2 separate regions of the Homo sapiens genome follow, and region 2 is linked to region 1. The links are contacts of gene promoters, found by promoter capture Hi-C in blood cells and fetal thymus (Javierre and others, 2016). All regions are on one chromosome and are shown on one strand. The core of a region is centred on a gene start or on the middle of the fragment in contact, and the rest is flanking DNA. Distances in the headings are between cores, read along the strand shown. Region 1 holds the start of TAF1A (TATA-box binding protein associated factor, RNA polymerase I subunit A). Region 2 overlaps LOC124904518 (a long non-coding RNA gene).

Evidence for each region. The method cuts DNA at HindIII sites, captures the fragments that hold promoters and counts their contacts. A CHiCAGO score of 5 or more calls a contact.
Region 2: a fragment that was not itself captured here is called in contact with the fragment with the promoter of TAF1A in region 1 in 1 of 17 cell types (non-activated CD4 T cells); the score reaches 5.2 in non-activated CD4 T cells.

Annotation. Positions count from the first base shown.
Region 1 is chr1:222,587,422-222,591,727 of GRCh38, forward strand. It overlaps TAF1A (TATA-box binding protein associated factor, RNA polymerase I subunit A), which reads right to left and starts at 2,512. Exons shown (of 11, transcript NM_005681.4): 1 at 2,306-2,512; 2 at 1,022-1,144. The coding sequence starts at 1,142. It overlaps TAF1A-AS1 (TAF1A antisense RNA 1), which reads left to right and starts at 2,499. Exons shown (of 3, transcript NR_110613.1): 1 at 2,499-2,541; 2 at 2,837-2,986. RefSeq lists enhancers at 2,479-3,012, 3,013-3,545. The HindIII fragment of the contact is 1,624 bases long and covers 2,160-3,783 here.
Region 2 is chr1:222,096,087-222,100,146 of GRCh38, forward strand. All of the region lies in intron 1 of LOC124904518 (a long non-coding RNA gene), which reads right to left. Among named protein-coding and RNA genes, the nearest start is that of LINC01705, 39 kb to the left of the region's middle. RefSeq lists a silencer at 2,688-2,888. The HindIII fragment of the contact is 2,581 bases long and covers 1,341-3,921 here.

The DNA.
Region 1 (4,306 bases), core at 1,262-3,761:
TAAATGGGATGATACTTAGATCAAAAGAAAAAAATGGAAGCGAAATTTTAGGAGCCAAGGAATCTCTGTCAAGGGGAGAAAAGGCTGGGCAAAAAAACACATATTTAAGGGCAGTAAGTAAAATGCTGGTTCAAATGTAATCCCAGGACTATACCACTCAATATGCCAGCATACAGATAATAGCTTCTTTTATTTATACTTATATTAAATATATTCTTATAGGGAATTTATCCCATAGAAAAACATACTTGCATTTATATTAGATAAAAATGGGGGAAATTTTATCCCATAGAAAATCATGCTTGCATTTACATTAGATAAAAATGGGGGAAAATGCTCTTTTATCTAGGCCGGGTGCAGTGGCTCATGCCTGTAATCCCACCACTTTGGGAGGCTGAGGTGGGCAGGTCACTTGAGGTCAAGAGTTCAAGAACAGCCTGCCCAACATGGTGAAACCCTGTCTCTATTAAAAATACAAAAACTAGCCAGGCGTGGTGGCTGGTACCTGTAATCTCAGTTACTCGGGAGGCTGAGTAGAATCACTTGAACCTGGGAGACAGAGGTTGCAGTGAGCCAAGATCTAGCCACTGCACTCCAGCGTGGGCAACAGAGCAAGACTCTGTCTCAAAAAAAAAAAAAATCTATTACACGATCAATTCTATTCGAAATAATTTCAATGCAATTCAACAGCAACTTCTTGAACACTTCCTAGGCATGTTTTCCTCAATGGCAGAGACCATATCTTCACCTATGACTCCCCAATATTTAATCAATGCCAGAGATAAAAGTGCTCAGTAAGTATTACTGGAAAAAATGTGTATCTAGCATAATACAGACTATCTATTATTAATCCAAGGGCAAAGAATTCTAAAAGAAAAAAGATTTCTTTTGGCTTTTAGCCAAAAAACCCTCCACATATTCCTCTTGAAAATTAAACCAGTCTGGTTATTCATTTTGTATCCCTATTGAATCTTACCACCTCCTTAAAGTTAAAATGGCTCAATGTTATTATTTTACTTACCCACAGTTTCTACGTATGTTTGAAGCCAAGGAAAATGCATTCCTGCACCACTGAGCACAGATGTTTCCACTTCTTCATCATCTGTCACAGGCCCTTTTAATTCTTCACTGAAATCACTCATACCTATTACAAGATGAGATATCAGTTACTTTCTGTACATCTTAATCCACAGTCTTCTGAGTTGTACAGAAAAACGGCTATCTTTTTATCTAATAAATATAATTTGATTAGCAAAATGCATTATACCTGTCAGCTCTTTTAAAGTAAAAAATGAATTTAACTATGTCAGCAACAGCCAAAATGAATGATCCATTAAAGACCGAACCACTAATGTTTCAAGTCCATGTAAAGATAAATAAGATACTGCCCCTCTAATTTAAAAAATCTCAAGTCTAGACGAAGAAACAGCAAAACGTATAATAACAAAACAATATGAAAAGTACAGTAAGAATAGAAGTAGCAGCTAATATTTATTAGGCCCTTACTATGCACTAGAAGTATAAATTATCTAATTTAATCCCCACAGCAATCCTGAGGTGGGTACTATTACTTTCTTCCATGTGAAGGTTGAAAAAACTGAGGGGCTTAGTGAAATGATGGAACCTGCCTAACATCACAAAAAATGGTGAGGACGATAGTCTAGGAAATAGAACACCAAACTACTTGGCATGACTAGAATTCGAGGTGCGTGTGGAGGAGGGGTGCGGAAGGTGAGAAACGAACCTAGAAAAATCATCATAAGCCAAGGTGAGTTTAGACTTACTCCTAAAGATGCTCAGGGCCCCTTCCTCATTACCCATATGAAATCGAGTATTAGTGCCCCTGATACTACCTCCAAATTTCCCCTATTTCCCCTCTTCAATCCTACAGCACTACTCTAGTTCAAGACCCCTTCAAACAGTGCCTAGATTACCGCATCAGCTTTCTAAACAATTACCCTGGCTCAGATTTTGCATCTCTGCATTATACCCAGAGTAAACCTTCTAAATTCAAAGCATGTGGCTAGGAGTATGAATTATAAGTAACAACTGAATTTGAATCCGACCCATCACGTGTTTTCAGGAGTAGTTACACAAATCCTCCCTTTCCAAATCCTCAAAAACCCAAATTGGTGACCCGCAGTTGCCACGGCAACCAAAGCTTCTCTATCCCCTTCTTTCGTTTTCAGACCCCAAGGGTTTCAGGTATTAGGAGGAAATATCAGGAGAACATGGATGAATCCTGACACACCCCTTCCCGTTCCATTTAAACGCAGGAACCACGGGCGATATCTGCGGCACTTACCCGCCTAAATTTAGAGCTCCTCAGTAAAGCTAAACTCAGTCTCCGACTCCGGCCCACGTGAAGAAATTCCCACCGGAAGACGAGTTAGGAGAGCTTTATATGAGCAGGCGCTAAACCTGGTTTAGGTATTTAGGCAGCGCGCGGCCCGGCTCGTAACTCCTCCTGCTGCAGCAGGCGTATCGTTGGCCTCGCCTCGACCCCGGAAGTGACTTCTGGAAGTGACCCAGGAAGTGACAGTGAGCTGCCTCTCTGCGATTGGTTTTGCCCGAGTTTTATTTTTGTCTGTCTCAGCTAGAAAGTGGGAGACTTTCATTTAAAATGGAAATTGGGGCGAGGGGTTGGCGGCTGGGCGAAGGGAGCATTCAAAAGCGGAGAATGTCACTTTACCCGAGAAATTCACTACGATGGGCCATTGGTTTCTGCTCGGCTCGCAGGCGCACTGCACGAGTGGAGGTGTGGCTAGTGGCTGTGATGAGATAAATCCATGCATAGCCTTTTCATTGCGAGCTTGAAAGTTCTTTTCTATTACAGTTTTAGCTTTAGGTTTAATTGGTTCGACTGCCTTCTCCACAATTTGGGCGAGAATTTCCTTTGCCTTCTCAGCAAAAGTTGTTCTGCGGACCCGTCTGGGTCAACTTTCATGAGGGACATTGAGACAAACAAATGAAATATGGGTTAAAGGTAAGATGGTTAAACCGTGTGAAATGAGAGACAGTTGAGGGGTTCTAGGGAAGATGATCCCGGAAAAGGACTGCAGGCCCATGGAAACGCAGTGTGCTTCTCCAATATTTGGAGGGCTGATCAGTGAAAGAAGGATCAGACCCTTTTTCTTAGCAGCAGAGAACAGAACTAGGACTAATAAGTGAAAGGTAAAGGGAGGCTGCTTTCAAGTCACAGCAAGAAAGAATTTTGTCCACAAATGAGGATGCACAAATATAGCATAGGCTCCCCCAGGAATCACTGAGTTTCCTCTGTGTAGGTGAACAGTTTGAGTAGAATCGGAGTATCGGAGAGGAAATTAAAGGGTCTGGTAAGAGTTTGAGGCCGGGCGCGGTGGCTCATGCCTGTAATCCCAGCCCTTTGGGAGGCCGAGGCAGGCGGAAAGTTTGAGCTCAGGAGTTCGAAACCAGCCTAGTCAACATGATGAAACCCCGTCCCTACAAAATAAAAATAAAAAAAAATAAGCTGGGGTGATGATGCATGCCTCTAGTCCCAGCTACTCGGGAGGATGAGGTGGGAGGATCACCTGAGCCCAGGGAGGTCGAGGCTGCAGTGAGCTGTGATCACCCTACTGCACTCCAGCCTGGGCGACAGAATGAGACCCTGTCAAAAAAAATTTTGTACATGGATTCCTTAAAATGCTACAAATAGTTGATTCTATGTTGTCTTCTGCATAAAACAATATGCAGTAGTTAAGGACTTGCAAGAAAAGTTCCTTCTGCTGCTCTCTCTGTCATTAGTTCTTGAGTCCTCACTCAAGCTTGTGCTCTAACTCTACAGGCAGGGCTAACATAAATTATGCGTAGTCCAGGAGACCACACACAAAATAACATACATAATCATTACTTTCTTGTCTAGAGGCTTAGTCTGGCTACTTTTCTCCCATTGGCTTGAGGTGTAAATTCACCAAAACCAGCCCAGAAATGATTTTACATGGAAAAAAGTTTATGTTCTCCCGAAAATGAGGAAGAGCTTTCAGATTTTCCTCGAAGTTCTCAAACAGCTCTAAGGAGCAGTAGGAAACGTGCCCTACCTATGCTTTTTCTTTCCCATGCTGCAATTCTGACAGAAAATGTGTTGGAGAGAAGAGATAAAAAAAATCAACTAGATCACATCCAATAGCATAAACAAGAAGGAAGGAGGGAAGGTTGCCGTGGCAGGCATCTGTAGTCCCAGCTACTCCAGAGGCTGAGGCAGGAAGATCGCTGAGCTCAAAAGTTCAATTCCATCCTGGGCAACATAGCAAGACCATGTCTCAAAAAAAAAAAAAAAAAAGGCATG
Region 2 (4,060 bases), core at 1,381-3,880, 490 kb before region 1:
CACTTTGGCTACTATTCCCCCACCTCACTCACAGGATTGTCACATACCTGTCACAAAGAAGGCTCTTACCTATGTAGCACATAATGAACACAAATTTCATGCCCACACATACACCCAGGTGCACACATGCATGCACAGGTATATGCGTGTGCATACAAACATATATTGACACGTCCATTAGCTCACTTCTTAGCCCTCGTCTGTGTGTGTGGACTTCCCCCCTCTGCCTTTCAGCACATCTGGCTCTTCCCCGCAATTCCCCTCCTTGCCTCTAGGGGGCAAACTGTGCCTCAGTCTCAGCCTGATGTTGAAAAAGTCCTCAGTTAAATTCTCCCCTCCCTTTAATTTAGGTGAGATTCACTCACCTAAGTTAGTTCTAGGTCCCGCCCCATCTTCTCTTCCCTTAAAGGCAGAGGTGCCTCAGGCGCTGTCTTTGACTTTCTCTGGTCTCTATCCCAAAGTTATCACTTTGTCTCATAGAATCCCATGGCTTCAACTATCCCCTACATATATTCATATTCCCCAAAAGCAAACCTGGAGAAGACCTGAATTAAATCTCTAGTTGTAGCTTCCACTGACACTGAAGTCTCAATATGCCCCAACCCAACCTTTTTATCTTCTCACTCAAACATATTTTACTTTGCATTAATGACACTAGACCCTAATTACTCCTGTGAGAACTACTAAATGTACTTGTGATTCTCCCCTCTCTCTCTCCCCTCAACTTTCATTCATTTGCTGAATTCTGAGGATTCTCCCTCTGCAAGAGTTCTCACCTCTGTCTCTGCATTACCACTGCCTACTGCCACAGTTGAGGCATTGGGCGTTTCTCGTGTGAACCGTCACAGTGAAATGCTAACTGACCACATCACGATGAGCCTTTCTCCCTCAACTCAGCTGCCATACTCACCTGCTAGACTTGTCTTTCTAAGCCCAGTATGAGGCTGTATGTCACTCTTTGTATTTTCCACTGCTGACAACAATATCTGCACAAGATTACCAGCAGACTGCCTACATCTGAATCATCCAGGAGGCTGGCTTACAATGCAGATTTCTAAGCTCCACTTCAAGCCAGCTGAATCAAATCAGTAGGTCCCAGAAATCTACATGTTCAGCCAAGTCCCTTTATAAGCCTTCAGCCCACTACAGCAGGAGAGCCACTGGCATAGAGCTTCCTCTGTAGGGCATTTAAAGCCTTTCACTATCTGGCCCCTGCTTACCTTTTAATCTGATTTTCGCCAGTCCCTTCACCCATGCCCTCATTCTCCATACTTACCCTGTGCCTTTGGGTGTTTCTCTCCCTGAAATGCCCTCTGCCTTTTGCTGCCAGATCTTACTAAAGCTTAGCCCTAAATTCACATACTCTGTGGCATCGTCTGTGATGCCTCTGGTTATATCCAATTCCTACCTCTTCAGGACCTCTGTTACCCTCAATAAAACAGGATTTGTTCAGCTGGTGAGTAACTCCACGAGAACACAGGTTTTGATCAATAAGAGTTTTATTACTTGGTGCAAGTAAGGAGGATACTGGGAGTGTTCTCCAAAGCAGTGTCTCCCGGAGAGAAGGGGACAGGAGGGTTTTATGCGGCAATGGAGAAGGGTGCATCATGGCAGGTAGAGGAGGGGTCCCAGTTGCACAGACATGATGAGTCATCATGCCAGCATATGGGTTGCATGTCATGGTAATGCAGGTATAGCTCCTCCCAGGGTGGAGACTTTGGCATAGTAATGAGGAAAGTTCACTCGAGTTCATCTAGAAGTTGCCAGGATCAGTCAGGACCTGGTTTAAACCAACAAGGTGACTGCATTCCACACAGGCTGCAGGGCAGGAGGCTGTAAAACAGACTGACCAGACTGACTGCTCAACTTGATTCGATTCCTATCATCCCTGGAGACTCTCCCTGTCTGTTTATACTCTTATATACTTTATAACAGTGTATCTCTGTGCATTATAGTAACTGTTTTAGTACCCCTTTCCTTTTTGGCCAAATACCTCTTAAGGGCAAGAACCAAGTTTTACTTATCCTTTTACCCCAGTGTCTGACACATAGTCAGTGCTCAATAAAATGATGTTTGAATGAATGACTGCATAAATACTGTCTTCCACCACTGCAATTCAAACATCAGACTCCATGGATAGCAGCATTTAGAAAAACACTTATATCTAACCATAATGATTCTGACAGGTTCCTGATAACTCTGGAAGTGTTATGCATTCCATCAGACTGAGAGGACCCAAATTTCATTTCTGAAATTCAGAGGACATCACAAGGAGACAGTTCCATTTAAATTTATCTTTCCAATTAAGGGCATAGACACAGATTCAGTTAGTTTGTACCGAAAGAGCCATTCATAGAATAGCCAACAGCTAAGGCCTAATTCTCAGACTAATGAGTAACTAAAGATATTTTTGAAAAAGCTGAATGTCGACAATATGACAGGGACACCAGAAAAACAAGGCTGTGGATGGCACTTGCCATCTGTCATCTGTCCAACAGTTGATGGCATTATTTGAATAACCCCTGAGTTTGTGGATTAGTCTTGTGGACCAGAGATAGGAGTGGAGGGGTTAGGAAGAAGGAAGTCACAAGGTCCCCTCTTTTCAAGAGTTTACAGTTCAGTTAGAACCACCTAAATGCTGCATGTGGCAAAAACCCAGGAATAAAAACAAAGAAGTATGGTAGAGACTGCACATTGACCTAATGTAGAAACAAAGCCCACAGCTGCTAGGGAAAGAAAGAGATTCGAGATTTATTTGTAATGAGAATTTTGGCACTGGAAGAGCCTACAGAGACCATGTAATACAGCAGTCTCACTTCACAAATGAGAACTAAATGCCGAGTGAAGTGACTTTTCCAAAGCCATTCGAATTGTTTATTTAACCAGGAAACCTTTCAGATAGAAATAAGATATGCCTGGAAAAAGAGAAGGTAAGTTTTTCAGAGAGCTATGTTGGAGGAGGGAAAAACTATGTGAGGAGAAAAAGAGAAAGAGGTTTCTGCAGAAGGAGAAGAGGCAAATGAGCAAGTTTGGGAGATGAAAGCAAGAATTTCTAGTGCAGTGCAAAGAAGAGTGATGAGGAGTGAGACTGGGGTGTCACGTTGGAGGTGGGAACCAACCTTTATGAATGGAAAGTCTTAGCTAGAAGAAGGAGGAGGGTTGCTATGAACCCAACTGAGTTCCAGCCCTATATAATGAATTCCTGTGCTGTTAGAATCCAACCTCACTCAATCACAAATTTTTGAAGCTGGAAAGACCTTGAAGGAAAACTAAGGAACTCATCTTAGAGATGAATAAGCCCAGGTTCAGAAGGAGGCAGGGCAAGTGTGTGGTCTTTGGAAACATGCTGATTCTAGTTTTAACACTCATCAGCCATATGTCTTTGAGCCACTTATTGAAGCTCTTTGAGCCTCTGTTGCCTTTCCTGTAAGAAGGAGATATATTCAATTCATAGTGTTGTTATAAGGGTTAGACTATCATGCATCATTAGCACCTGGCCTAGTGTGAGCCCATAAATGGAATTCAGTGAATGCTTCTTCTGCCTCCCTTTGTGCTAAGAGATGAGTTGCCTTGCCCAGGTCATCAGCTTATGCATAGCAAAGACAAGGCAGAAACTTTAATGTTTAAACCTGAAAATCCAAGCTACAGCCCTAAAACAGGCTGCCCCTCTTGCAAACTCTACCTAGGCTCCCACCAAAGTACTTAGGATCCTTTTGAAAAGGGGCAGTTCCGGAATTGCCATAAGAGACCAGGAATTCACAATCAGAACTTCATTTGCTTTCCTTCCTGAAGTTTGTCTTTAGTGAGCTCACAGCCTTGACGAATGAAGAAACAAACCCATCTCAAACAAACAAAAAACAAAGAGGGCAGATCAAAGACAAGTCCTCTATGAAAGTATGTCAGCTGGGGATAGAGGATAAAAGCTTTTTTGTTGCTGAATGAAAAAGCTCTTTTGGCTTCATGATTTCCTAGGGATTATAATAATAATGGCCTGGATTATCAATACAATTCACATCTGAATGTGCTTCACATTTCTCAAAACCTGAAGATTGGAAACTAA